Regions from separate parts of the Homo sapiens genome. Here regions 2, 3 and 4 are each linked to region 1. Evidence: promoter capture Hi-C in human tissues and cell types (Jung and others, 2019). All regions are on one chromosome and are shown on one strand. Each heading gives the region's core, a stretch centred on a gene start or on the middle of the fragment in contact. The rest is flanking DNA. Distances are from core to core; before and after follow the strand shown.

The links. Contacts are between HindIII fragments. The study calls those that stand out against the background at their distance.
Region 2: a fragment that was not itself captured here is called in contact with the fragment with the promoter of CACNA2D4 in region 1 in 2 of the 25 tissues and cell types used here (dorsolateral prefrontal cortex and mesendoderm cells).
Region 3: a contact is called between a fragment that was not itself captured here and the fragment with the promoter of CACNA2D4 in region 1, in 2 of the 25 tissues and cell types used here (pancreas and spleen).
Region 4: a contact is called between a fragment that was not itself captured here and the fragment with the promoter of CACNA2D4 in region 1, in 1 of the 25 tissues and cell types used here (spleen).

What each region holds. Positions count from the first base shown.
Region 1 is chr12:1,916,967-1,920,243 of GRCh38, reverse strand. It overlaps CACNA2D4 (calcium voltage-gated channel auxiliary subunit alpha2delta 4), which reads left to right and starts at 1,592. Exons shown (of 38, transcript NM_172364.5): 1 at 1,592-1,997. The coding sequence starts at 1,771. RefSeq lists an enhancer at 2,943-3,277. The HindIII fragment of the contact is 9,283 bases long and covers 1-3,277 here.
Region 2 is chr12:1,853,953-1,857,229 of GRCh38, reverse strand. CACNA2D4 (calcium voltage-gated channel auxiliary subunit alpha2delta 4) reads left to right here. Exons shown (of 38, transcript NM_172364.5): 21 at 1,001-1,046; 22 at 1,121-1,218; 23 at 3,186-3,277. Among named protein-coding and RNA genes, the nearest start is that of LRTM2, 35 kb to the right of the region's middle. The HindIII fragment of the contact is 7,695 bases long and covers 1-3,277 here.
Region 3 is chr12:1,962,178-1,965,454 of GRCh38, reverse strand. The region is part of intron 5 of DCP1B (decapping mRNA 1B); the gene reads left to right. Among named protein-coding and RNA genes, the nearest start is that of LINC00940, 27 kb to the right of the region's middle. The HindIII fragment of the contact is 6,426 bases long and covers 1-3,277 here.
Region 4 is chr12:1,880,219-1,883,495 of GRCh38, reverse strand. It overlaps CACNA2D4 (calcium voltage-gated channel auxiliary subunit alpha2delta 4), which reads left to right. Exons shown (of 38, transcript NM_172364.5): 13 at 496-629. Among named protein-coding and RNA genes, the nearest start is that of CACNA2D4, 37 kb to the left of the region's middle. The HindIII fragment of the contact is 4,323 bases long and covers 1-3,277 here.

The DNA of each region.
Region 1 (3,277 bases), core at 343-2,842:
GTTACATTCTTTTTATGTATTGACTGCCCAGTGTGCCTCTGTAGTATTTTTTCTAAATGTGTTTGATTTGTAATCCTCAAAACATGTACAAAATTTATGTGAAATTAAGGCATTCATAGGAATCATTTAGATGCCTTTAAAAAATACATTGTATTCAGCCACAAAACTGTGCCACCAGATTACTCTGATACTACAGCACTGACTTATTGATGAATCTGTGTAGGAGTTTTGTCATCAGAACACTTGCTTCTGCAAGCATTTCTCTGCGTTGGTGGCAATTTTGCTTACCATTTTGCTGGAACCACCAGATTTTGTGAAGACACAGTGCACCAGTTACACTAAGAAAATAATCTGATACGGGGACTGCATAAAATCTATGACTTCACCCCCGGAGAACCCATGTGGTACTACTACTGGTTTGGGCTCACAACACAAGAATTTTGATCAATTCTAATTTGTGTAACTCTCATCAGAACACAAAGCAATGTACGGTGTAATTATATTCTTTCAATATCCACTATTTTCCTAACAGGAGAGAACTTCTGTCCTGGCCAGGCCTTGGTGAGAACCAAATCCTCCACCAACGATGTTACCTGTGTGGCTTTTTGTAGATTTTCTGCAGATGAGCTCCTGACTGTTACTTTGCCCTCCCCACCACACATGGCCAGGGTGGGTGTGACAGCGTGCGCTCACATCACGGCCCAGCCTCTCTTGCTGCATCTGCTGGTGGGATGTCCTGTGGGATGAGTGTTCCTGGAAGCCCTGCCTACACTCAGCTGGAGGTAACTTCTCTGTACAAAGAAGTCACTGTGAACCATGTCAGCATATCCCACTAAGCCCAGATTAAGTGTTTCCCCAGCTCACTTTCCTCTTAACTGGATCCCCCAAGTGCCCTCAGCCACCCAAACATCATCCAACTAAGAGTCCCTCAGACGGAAGAGAAGTTGGGATGGAAAGAGACAGACAGTCTCAACCGGTTATGGTTAAACTATCTCAACTTTTGCATATTTTACAAAAACATTTGGCCACAGGAACACATTGCTAGGGCCTCTCCGGGAAAGGGGGGAGTCTGTGGATTCAGGGGTCCTGAAGCTTCATCAGTTGCACAGCAAATGCGTCCCCAGCCCCGCCCACGAGCAGCTGAGATGTGGAGGCGTGGGTCCACTGACTTCACCTATGACCTATGACCTGTCCCAAAGGCACCAGGCCTGGAAACACCAGCCAGAGTCCCAGCTCTGCCCCTGGGACTCCCCGGGCCTCAAGAGCCTCTGCCAAGCAGGGATGAGGACACACCCCCACCTCAGGGTCAACAAGAGATTTGTGGGTCAATCAGAGTACTGTGCAAACTCAGCTGCTGTCCTCTGGCCATAGTCACAGCAAGCCCTTCCTGGGTCCAGAAGGTGGTTCCACAGGAACGGGGCTGCCTCTTTAAAGCAGAGGGGTGCACTATAGCCCTGAGGGAACCAGCTGCAGTTGTGGTAATCTTGGGAGGCAGCTCCCCACCCCCTGCCACCCCCTCCCTGCTGTCAGGAGAGGATTAGAGGAGAGGCCAGCGGATTAAAGGGTTTCATGTTGCCACAGCCTCTCCCCCAGTCCCTGTCTCCGAGGCCTGCTTGCTAGGTGGGGCGACTCTTCTGTGAGCTGCAGCTGTGGGGCAGAGAGAAGCCCTCCCCACCCAGGACTGAGAGGCTGGAGACCCCAGGCTCGCCAAGGCACGGAAGACAAAGGCCTGGGGCGTCCTGGGGTCTGGGAGGAAGGCAGACAGAGCTCATGGTCTGTGGCTGCTCTGCCCTCCTTCCCCTCCCCAACCCCAGGCCCACCATGCCTGCAACTCCCAACTTCCTCGCAAACCCCAGCTCCAGCAGCCGCTGGATTCCCCTCCAGCCAATGCCCGTGGCCTGGGCCTTTGTGCAGAAGACCTCGGCCCTCCTGTGGCTGCTGCTTCTAGGCACCTCCCTGTCCCCTGCGTGGGGACAGGCCAAGATTCCTCTGGAAACGTAAGCATCACGTTCAACCCCACCCCAAAAACCCGGTCACCCTTTCCCACTTTCTTCCCGGGCTGGGCCTCCATCCTCTGCCCACTCCTCCCGCCCCTGCCCTCCCTCTGGGCTTTTCCCCAGTGGCTGCGACTGACCACTCTCTTGCTGTAAAGCCCTTTGCTTCTCCGGCCTCCTCTTTCTCCTCCCAAAAGCTCTGTGAGTTCTGGAGTCCCACCTGCCTCTCCCCAGGAGCCGGATGGCTTTAGGAAGAACTGATCATCAGGGCTGCTGTCTTCCTGGCCTGACAAGCAGCTTCTGGGACACCTGAAGGGCGGGTGCTCCTTCAGGATAATCGCTGAGATGAGGCAGCCTGGAGGAGCCGGGTTATCTCAGCATCGCAGCTCCCCGAAGCATTTGGCAGGAAATGCGTATTTTGACATTCCAAAAAGGGGAAGCAGTTCTGAACCCACAGAACGTCTCATGCGCACAGGAGGTGGCTTGTCCAGGAACTGGGGAAAAAAATGGATTTTGGTGGCCGCAGTCTTCCCTTTCTACACCTTTCTGCCTCCTTCCAACCTTGATTCTCTAGCCGGCCATTAAGACCGGCTCCAGGAAAGAACCCGGTATCAGTCATGTGCACCTTGGTGTACATGTAAATTACTGTGCAACCTCTCTGGGGTGTCTGTGTTTTAGGCCCTAGCTCAGGTGGTCCTAGGAAGGAAATTTCCAATACATGTGGGTAGCAGAGCCTTCTAGACTGTAGGTGCTACAGACCCCATCCTGTTTACTCCAGCCGCTTGAGCCCAGCACCATAGCCAGGCCACCAACAGAGCCACCTGCCAACTGCATGTCTTAGCAGGAGTGGGGACAGGGAGCCTAAATGACACACCGTGCCTGTGCTTAGCCTTTGCTGACCAGTGGATTAGGCAGCATCGTTTCCCATCGAGCCGCATAGCTCTCCTTGTTCCCTGCCTGGCACGGAGCTGGGCGCTTCACAAATGACACCGTTAGTTTGCAGAGCCATTCAGTGGGGGCTTATTTTTATCCCTATTTTGCAGCTGAGGAAACAGAGGCCCCGAGAGGTCAGGTGACTTCCCCAAGTTCACAAGGCCAGGAAGTGAAGGTGCTGGGATTTGAACTCCTGTCAGCCTGGACTGCACTTTCACCATTACACCCGCCGCCAGCCCGTAACGCTATCTGTTGCTGCAGGAGATGTTCAGAACAATTTTCATCCCCAGAACACACACCAGCTGATAGGAGAGGGCCAACTCCAGGAGTGGGCTGAGGGCCAAGTCGGG
Region 2 (3,277 bases), core at 312-2,811, 63 kb after region 1:
AGGCACTAGCTGTGTGCTCACCTGGAAGCTGTGTCTGCCCTTCCACAGCACAGATCCTAGCACTGGGGCACTCTCCTCTGTTCCCCATCATCCCTAGGCCTCCATCGTGCCTTCTTCCTTCTTCCTACACATTTCTTCCTCTGCCCAGATATTCCCAGGGTGCACTCCTCCAGGAGACAGAGGGTGCTGTCTTATACCCACTCCTGGGAGTGAGACATTCCAGTGGTCAGGGGCTTGGAATCCCGGAGTCTCCTGGTCTTCTGTGGGCAAGGGAGCTCCCCTTCCAGCTGCTTGCCCTGTGTCTACATCAGAGCAGCAGCCCTTGTGAGGCTCCACAGATGCCCCACTGGCCTTTCTGTCATCCCCTCCTTGGACTTACCCTCAGTGGAGCACCTGTTCATTTCTTAGCTCTGAGTAGGTGCCATGGAGCATCAGCTCATCGTTCTTTCAGTCAACAGCGTGTACTGAGCATGAGATCAGGCTGGCTCTGTGTTAGGTGAGAGGCCGCAAAACACACAGGGCCCATCCTGGGGATGAAGCCAATGAAGCCAAAATCACTGGTTTCAAAGTATCACCTCCCTTTGAGGGAGATGCTAGGAGGAATAAGATGCAGCTTCCTCAGGGAGCTGCTGTCTGGCAGAAGCACAAGGTTATTACATGCCCATAATAACCCAAATCCAACCTGGATGGGGAGGAGGGGCATGAGGGCTGCAGGAGGAAAAGATGCTCCCACTGGCTGGGCAGCTCATTGAAGGCATGGCATTTGCCCTGAACCTTGAAGAAGGGGTAGGATTTGGACATGAAACAATGAGAAGAAAGCATTTCAGGAGGTGGGACCTGTGCAGACTTAGCCATGTTCTCCTACTGTGAGCTAAGAGCAAGAAAGAACAGACCCCAGTCCCTTTCTTTAGAAACTCACTGGGTGGCTGTTTCTACAATTGAGACACACACCCTCATGGCAGTGAGGGAGCATCACCCTGAATGTGGACTCTGGTTTCAGGCCTGCATGACTTGCTTCACCCAGACCTGGCCCTGGCCGGTGACTGGTAAGTGAGGAGTAAAAAATGGGAGGGAGACAGGTGGAATGTTTTGAGATAACACTGACTTTCCTGGGTTTCAGGATCTACTGCATCACAGATATTGACCCAGACCACCGGAAGCTCAGCCAGCTAGAGGCCATGATCCGCTTCCTCACCAGGAAGGACCCAGACCTGGAGTGTGAGTGCTGGCCGCCCACTGAGGCAAGCTTTTCCTCTGGGGCCCTGAAGTTCAGGACTTTGCCAGGAGAGGTGGGAAGGCAGGGGGAGGCTGCTGCACAGCCCTATCCCATTAGCACATGGATGGCTTAGATCAAACAGGGAGATTCCCAAAGAAAAAGGCATAGCCAGCCTTACCACAGGGCTGAGCTGGTATTTAAGCACCCTTGGAACTGTGGTAACATGTATGGATCCCCAGGTCAGGGACTGGGATCTTTTTCAGCCTCTATCCACCAAGCTCTGTTAAGGGTCAGGAGAAAGCACCATTCAGAGTCTGTCATCTTTTTCCCTACCACTGTCTAGAAGTGGACCTCTGGGCAAATGGCTGCCACTCTTCACCAGAAGTCCTCATCTCCACAAGGGGAGCATTTGGCCAGATGACTCGAAGCCTGTGGGCTCTGTTTTCTAAACCAGTTCCTCAGGCTAACCTTGCTCACCTCTTCCAGGTCTAGGAGCCCCAGGTGCTCCTTGTCTTGCAGCTGTGACACTTCAGTCTCTGCTCCATGGTCACATGGCCTTCTCACCTGCACTAATGCGAGTGGTGAGCTCATTAGGCCACATCCTCAGCTTGCTCCTCCTTCTTCCTCTTTGGAAGAAAGAGCAGGTCATCCTGTCACATAATTGTCACCCGCATAAGAAGACTGCCTCCCATGCCAACCCAACAGGGCACTTACTTACTTATTTATTCATTTCATCAACAAATCTGTACTGAGCTTGCACCCTGTGTCAGGCCCTGGGGTAGGTATTAGAGCTACAGAGATAACCCAGACAAGGCCCTTGCTATCATGGAGCTTACATTCTAGTGGAGAAGCCAGGTGATAAGCAAATAAGCCTACATATATAGATATAGGTTGTTATAAATTGTGATAAGCGCCATGAACAGGATGCTGTAGGGGAGAGAAATAGGCCTGCTTTAAAGGAGATCCTGTTAAGCCACTTGGGTGGCTCTATTGTGACACCTCCTCACCAAGGTGAGGAGGATCTCCTTTGGGGGGTGATAAAAATATTTTGGAACTAAATAGAGGTGGTGGTTGTACAACATTGTGAATGTACTAAATGCCGCTGACTGAATTGCATACTTTAAATTGGTCAGTTTCATTTTATGTGAATTTTACCTCAATAAAGATAAATAAATTTTTTAAATGAGAGAAGAAAAAGAAAGAGCCTCCATGCAAAGACTGGGAAAAAGAATATCCAGATCAAGGGAAACAGCATGTATAGGGGCTCTGAGGTAAGGAGGAGCTTGGCAAGGTCAAATTCACAGAACTGGCCAGGGGCAGTGGCTCATGCCTATAATGCCAGCACTTTAGGAGGCCAAGGTGGGCAGATCACTTGAGGTCAGGAGTTCTAGATCAGCCTGGCCAACATAGTGAAACCTTGTCTCTACAAAAATTACAAAAATTAGCCAGGTGTGGTGGTGTGCACCTGTGGTCCCAGCTACTTGGGAGGCTGAGGCAGGAGAATTGCTTAAACCTGGGAGGCGGAGGTTGAAGTGAGCCAAGATCATGCCACTGTACTCCAGCCTGGGCAACAGAATGAGACTCCATCTCAACAACAACAACAACAAAAAATTCACAGAACTGACCAAAGGCCAAGGTGTCTGGATGGTTAAGAAGCAGATGAGGAAGAGTTGAGATGGGGGAGACTGGGAAGATCCAACCTGAGGTCACTGAGGGTCTCCTAAGTTCATCAGATGTTACAATTGGAAAGAGCCTCAGATATCAAGCTGTTGTACTGACATATTTTTTGGAGTTGAGAAAGTGAAGACAGACAGAGGTGAGGCAGCTCCCTCAAGCTCACAGAGATAGTTTTACATGTCCCATAGACACGTTCAGGAAGCACATCTTCTCCCTGAACTTAGGATGGGAGAGTTGTGTTCATGAGCATGGAGGAAGCATGTGGCCTGGTTCCCTGATGTTTTGCACCCAGGTGACGAGGAGCTGGTCCGGGAGGTGCTGTTTGACGCGGTGGTGACAGCCCCCATGGAAGCCTACTGGACAGCGCTGGCCCTCAACATGTCC
Region 3 (3,277 bases), core at 480-2,979, 45 kb before region 1:
AACAAAATTATATTACAAATAAAAAATCTTTATTTGTAATATAGATTTTTTATAAGCTGAAGAAAACTGTTTGCCTTTAAGTGGGTTAAAAAATAGCCTGAGAAATCAGTAGCCTTCATATATACAATAGCCTTCATGTATACAATAACCTTCATATACACAACTGGTAGTAAGTCTTGTTAGACTTACTGCAAGACCCCAACTTACAGTAGCAACAAATGAATATAAAATTGTTTGCAATAAAATTCACGAGAAATGGGCAAAACCTATATAAAGAAAATGTTTAAAAACTCCTGAAAGGCATAAAAATAGACTCAAACAAATGGAAATATACACCCTGTTGTTGGATAAGAAGATTCAACATAAAGCTCTTAGAAAAAAAATCTCTACATTTAAGGTGACCACTAAATAAATACCACTGGTTTCTTTTCCCCTCCCCTCCCCACTTCTCCCTTACTCTCTGATCTAGACAAGTTGAGTGTAAGGCTCATGGAAAGAAATATGCAAGAAAGAATAGCTGGGAAAATCCTGGCAAAGAAGTGTGATATTAGTAGGGGTTGGAGGTGGGGGAGATGAGTGGGGGGATGGAGCGAGCTCTCCCTGATTTTAAAACATTGAAGTCAACATTTCAAACAGTATGGTGTTGATGGTATTGATACCTAACAGCCCAATAGACCAATGGGACAGATTTAAGATTCTAAGTCTAGGATTAAATCCAATTGTATATGAAATCTAGGATATGATAAAGATGATAATCTCAAGTCAGCTATTTGAGTGAATTCCTAAATAAATGGTGTTGGGGCAACTGGTAGCCATTTGGAAAAATACAAAACTGAGTCTGTACCTTACAGCATACACCAGGATAAATTCCAAATGTATTAGAAATTTAAATGTAAAAATATAATGATTCAAGTACCAGAAGAAAATTTGTATGGATTTCTTTATAATCTAGGAAAAGAGAAATCTTTCAATTATGCCTAAAAACCCAAAAGCAATTAATTAAACTACATAAAAATAAAAAACATTTTACAAGGTTTAAATACAACACAAGCAAATAGAAAGATACAAAAACAACTCAGAAAAAAATTGTTGACACCAGAATGACAGGAAGGTTATTTTATGAAGAGCTCCTAAAAATTAAGAAGTACAAGATTAACACTAGAAAAATGGGCAAAAAATAAAAATTTTTAAAAATTATAGAATTTGGAAACTAGCTGAAATAAATGTATGTAATTGAATATCATATTGTCACATAATTACTTAGAAAAAAAATTAGAGTGACTTCAAAGCCCGCTGCTTGAACTGAACACTCTTAGTGGGTTATATTTTAAGGACAAAAAGAACTGCAAGACATTATAAACTTCATTCATTGGTTTTATTGTTTGTAGTAATGTTGGCATTTTAATTTTTCTACTGTTGGCATTGTAATTTTTCTACTGTTGTGGATATAATAAATATGAAATTAGATAAACGTGGTTGGAACCAAAACCTTAGTGTAAGGGGAAAAAAATCAAATCTAATAAGTTAAAACTACATAAGATTAAGTGGAAATATCAGAATTAGTTCATGTTTTGTTTCTTAGGTATAAAAACAAAAAATAGAGTTTCTCACTCTTGCCCTGAAAGGACATAAAAATAAAAGTGACTAACTCAGTAGCAGTAAGCATCTATATCACCCAGATTGTTGTTTCGAAATATTACTTCCTTCCAGAAGGTGTCAGGGCTCTTCAAAGAAATTTCTGATTCCAGGTCTGGAATAGTAAAACCAATAGGGTCATGTGAAAGGACACAGAAATCAGCTTCAAGGACACTGACCAGAGCACCACATTCTAACATCAACAGGAGTGACTACAATGGATTAAACCACATTGAATGTATAAAAATCTATGAGTTCCTGGTAATGAGAAAGAGAACAAGCAAACCAAACATATAAAACCAAGCAAAATAATTATTAGTTATCCGTTTGAAGGTGCTAAGGCACCAACTCCTTCCTCTGAAAATTGATAATTAATGGGAATGAAATAAGCTTTTATCCTGCCTGCCCTAAAGGGACTATATCTCAGAGTAATCAAACAGCCCTGGTCAATGAGGGAGAGCTGTTCTCTACCAGAGAATTCCAGCTAGTACGTGTGGAGAGAATAATAGAACTTAAAGACACTCTGCTTAAAATAATTGACTCAGGCAGTGATCATCAGTAATATTAATGTTATGGGAAAGGTTGATAGAAACTTGACAGTGGAAGGATCAGGCTGCCTCCTCCTGAACCCCGCTGATTATCATCATTAAAAGTTAGATAACCAGATTCTCTGGCTTCCTAATGTGATAAGATGTCAAATGTACAGCACCATCTTGAAATATTCTTGCCCAAAGAGTTGATCCTGAATCTCATTAAGCCTTGAGCTCTAACTTTTTAGTTTACAGAAAGTGAAAGTGGGTGGGGAGTGAGGGGAGACAAGGTAGAAAAACAAATTAAATGATGCTATGAGGAAGCAATCAGAAAAATCCTGAATGAAGTGGCACATATAGGCAGTTAGACAAGTTTCTTTAACATGCTTTGCCTTGACTGTGAGCTTCTTGAGTACGAAGAACATCCTTTATTCACTTTTATATCCCTTATTGTCTTCAAAGTACTTAGCACATGGTGAGTGTTAAATAATGGCTATTGAGTGAAGGAAGGAATATGAATGTGAATGAGCCACAGTTTAATTATCCTTCTATTGTATGGCCTGGACAGAGATGCCTTAATCTCAGCTTCAGACAGTAACTATTCTGTATTCATTTTGTGTTTTTTTAATTCTTCAAAAGTCATTAAAAAAAATTATGATGACTTGGCAACTAGTTGAATAATTAGTTATACTTTATTAATTATACTATATTATGCACACTAAAGATTAATCTTCAAAAGGTGACATTTCTGCCCTCCAGGAACTTAATGTTCTGTGAAGACAGTGTAACAATGGTAAATAAATACAAATATTGAAAAAAATTATTTTCCTTTCTTTCCCTCCCTCCTCTCAACACACACATACCTTGTATTGTTTCTGTTTTTTATCTTCTATATGTTATAATGTTTTGACATCTTAAAATCCTTTCTGGCTGGGGAGACTGCCCCTCCTGTGACCAGCCAGTGTTCAGAGATAGCAAAGGGCTTGGCCAGGAGCACGCCTTTAATATGCACACTAACCAATCCTGAGCCATACGTATCTCCTCGTCTCTGGCCTGTACAATATTCCTCTGCCTTAATCATCCCAGGGCCAGGTACCCAGCAACTGGGGACC
Region 4 (3,277 bases), core at 363-2,862, 37 kb after region 1:
TGGTTCCAGGGAATAGGCTGTAACACCCACCCCACAACCTGAGCAAGAACAAGGACCAGAGGAAGGAGGAGCGGAGAGGCAGAAATCTCTGCCTCTGATTGGGTTCCCTGAAGAGACCTAAGAGTGGCAGAAGAAAGCTTACAGGGCACTCTCATGAGATGTTCCTGTGAGGAAGTGGGAGGGCGAGGCTGGGAGAGGGAGAGGCTGACCCCCAACACTCTTGCGTCAGGCCCTGCTGCTCCTTCCGGAGCTCTGGGTGGGACAGCCCCTCAGAGATCTTCCAGGGTGCAGCAGAGTGAGCCTTGGCCTCCCACTGGCCTGCGGCTGCCCCTGGGTAAAGGACACAACTGTGGGGAAGCAGCTCCCTGTGCCCCGGTCCAGTTTCCAGAGAGTATTCGGCTATGAGCCATCTGCAGCTGGGGAGGGTGCAGGCCCTGGCGAGGGGTTCCCAGGGAAGCCCTGCCTTCCACACCCACGCGGCCTTCCCCACCGCAGGCTACTACACGCAGATCTCAACGCTGGCGGACACCCAGGAGAACGTGATGGAATACCTGCACGTGCTCAGCCGCCCCATGGTCATCAACCACGACCACGACATCATCTGGACAGAGGCCTACATGGACAGCAAGGTGAGCCTGGCAGCAGCTCCCAGCTCGAGAAGCCCACCTCAGAGTTAGGGACCCCAGGGAGTAAGAAGTTACTTCCTGGGTCAGGAAAGGGGTGGGCCTAGCACCTCCTTAGGGAACATTAAGAAGGGGCGAATGAAGCCGCTTTTCCATGCTTTTCCTCCTCTTTTCCTGACAGCCCTTGGCCCACTAATGGGACCACTGCTCATATGCTGCCTTAGACCCCCAGCAGACCTGCCTGAGGTGCTCTCCACGGACAGGGTCCCTGCTCCGAAGTTGTTCCTTCCTCCTCCTCCACAGTCCTCGCCTCCCTCATCATCCCTCCCTCCCACCCACCCGGGACAGAAAGGGGTCAGACCAAGAATCCACCATCCCACAGCTGGAACACGTTCTCCCTTCCTGGGTCCCTGCATTTTCAAAGGACTGTAGGCAGCAATGACTTGCACGAAAGAATGAACATCAAAGGGAGAGCTTCACATGGGACCTTTCTGGGGAAGGGAGACCTTTCTGCCATTTCTCAAATCCCCATCACATAGGCAGCCACCTGCTTCAGTGATGATGTATCAGGCTGGGCTCCAGAGAGACCTGAAAAGAGTGGCTTAAATAAGATAGAAGTGAATGTCCCCCTTGGGTAAACAAAGCCCAGAGCTGACCACGAGCTCTCTGGCCTGGTCATCAGGGACCCAGGCTCCTCCCTGCTGTCCCCTTTGCTGTCCCAGCCATGTGGCCCTCATCCTCATGCTCAGGAGGCTGGTGGAACATGAGTCAACTGAAACCACACTTAAGCATCAGGCTGTGGAAGGGGAAGGGGGATACTTCGCCCCTGTGAGGGAAACTTGCAGGGACTCTTGCCAGAACCCAGAATTCACCTTTCACTGGCCAGAACTCAGTCCCTGTGCTGACAAAGGAGGCTGGGAATGCAACGAGGCAATGGTCAGCTTTCTTCTGAGTTGCTCTATGTCCAAAAGCAGTGGCATGCTTACTTACCTCCACCTGTTAATAGTAGACATAAGCCATCTGGCCAAATTTGGGATGAAAAGCTCATTAATCTACTTTAAAGGGGCTCCGCCAACACGGCCATGCTCAGCAGATGTCATCTGACCATCACCGACTGCTGCTGAGAAGAGACGAGCTGGCTGCCTTTGGGCAGGGCTCTCCCTCCCTTGTCCAAGTGTTCATAGGGCCCTGAGTGTCCAGGTTTGATGAGAGAGAGGTGGGTGGGGAGAAGGAGGACAGGAGGGGATCTTCTTTGAGCTGTCTTCCTGTGAACCCTGGCACCTGCACTTCCTCTCCATCACCCGTGCATTCATCTGCCTGCCAGTAGCCAGCCCAGCAGGAGGGGCCAGGGCTCCGGTGCTCCGTGTGGGCCTCCCTCACCTGGGAGTGTTGTGGTCATGCCACGGGAGCTGGAAAGCGAAGGCTTTCAGAACCATGAAATCCGATGAGAGAAGCCGGGCATAGGCCATACCTGCTGAAGGTGGCCTGGAGTGTTGGGTGTGAGTTTGGCAGAAGGTGGGTAGAGGCAACCCCAGGTTCCCTGTGTGCTGCAACTGATGTCAGACGGTGCTAGGATGTCCTTAGCATTCTATGGACAGCCTGACCTTCTGACGCTCTCTTACCTCCACGCACACAGACGAGGCCACAGTTCACAGTTTGATCTTCACTTTTACACCTGTCCCTCAGTGAGAACCGCCCCCTGCAACCAGTCCCTACATCTCCTCTGTCTTCCTCCTTCCCTCTCCTGTCCCTGACTTAGGAGTCCCTGAAGTTAAGGGTCACCTGCAGGTCTCCCGGACCCACTTCGGAACCCTCTGAGTGGAGGATGTCACTCCCCTGAGCCCAGGGCAGGTGTCCGCCCTTGCAAGGGTATCCAGAAACATGAGTGCAGGGACAGCTGTGACTGGACTCCTCCCAGACTGAGACATGTCCTAGGGAGAGCAGGCCACAGGGGCCTCCAAGAGCCTGGGAGCTGCTCTCTGGGAGCCAGGGACAAGCTGGCTTCATGCATTCCTAACTCAGGAAGGAGACTGGAAAGCCCTCATGCAGCCCATAGAGATGTGTCCAAGCTCAGAAAACAATTAGATGTCATCGTGGTTCACTCTCAGAAAGCCTTACTTCTAACTCTAAATTGAAAACTCAGATGAGATGAGAGAAAGAGACGTGGTGGCCAAAATGTGCTTCCTTCTCCAAGAAAGTCAACTGTGGACTTCCATGACTCAGCAGTCCCCTTTAGTTGATCTCATCCAAGGTCGGACTTACGATACCTCTCTTCCCACATGCTTGTCAGAAGCCTACTTTTGTTATAAAGTGGGGCACACATGCAGAGCCCCTTTCAAGTGGCTGGAGGAGCCGGCACGGCGAGCCCAGCCAGTCAGGGCGGACAGCCGTCTAGAGGTGGCAAGGGTTTGGCTCTGGTGCTGTGAGTGGAGTCCATGTGGGTCTGACCTGTGTCCTAGGAACGGCCCCGAAGCCCACCACAGCTGCACCACGGCCTGCCTTTGCACTGCAGTGCCTCGGGGTGTGCTTGTGTTTCTGGGTAGCTCTGGGTCAATGTCCTCCCTCTCACCTGTAGCAACCTTAAGTCCATATCAGAGGTTTCTGGAAAGCTCGTGCTGTGCAAAGCCTCTCTGTTTCTGGGCAGGCGCAGATGG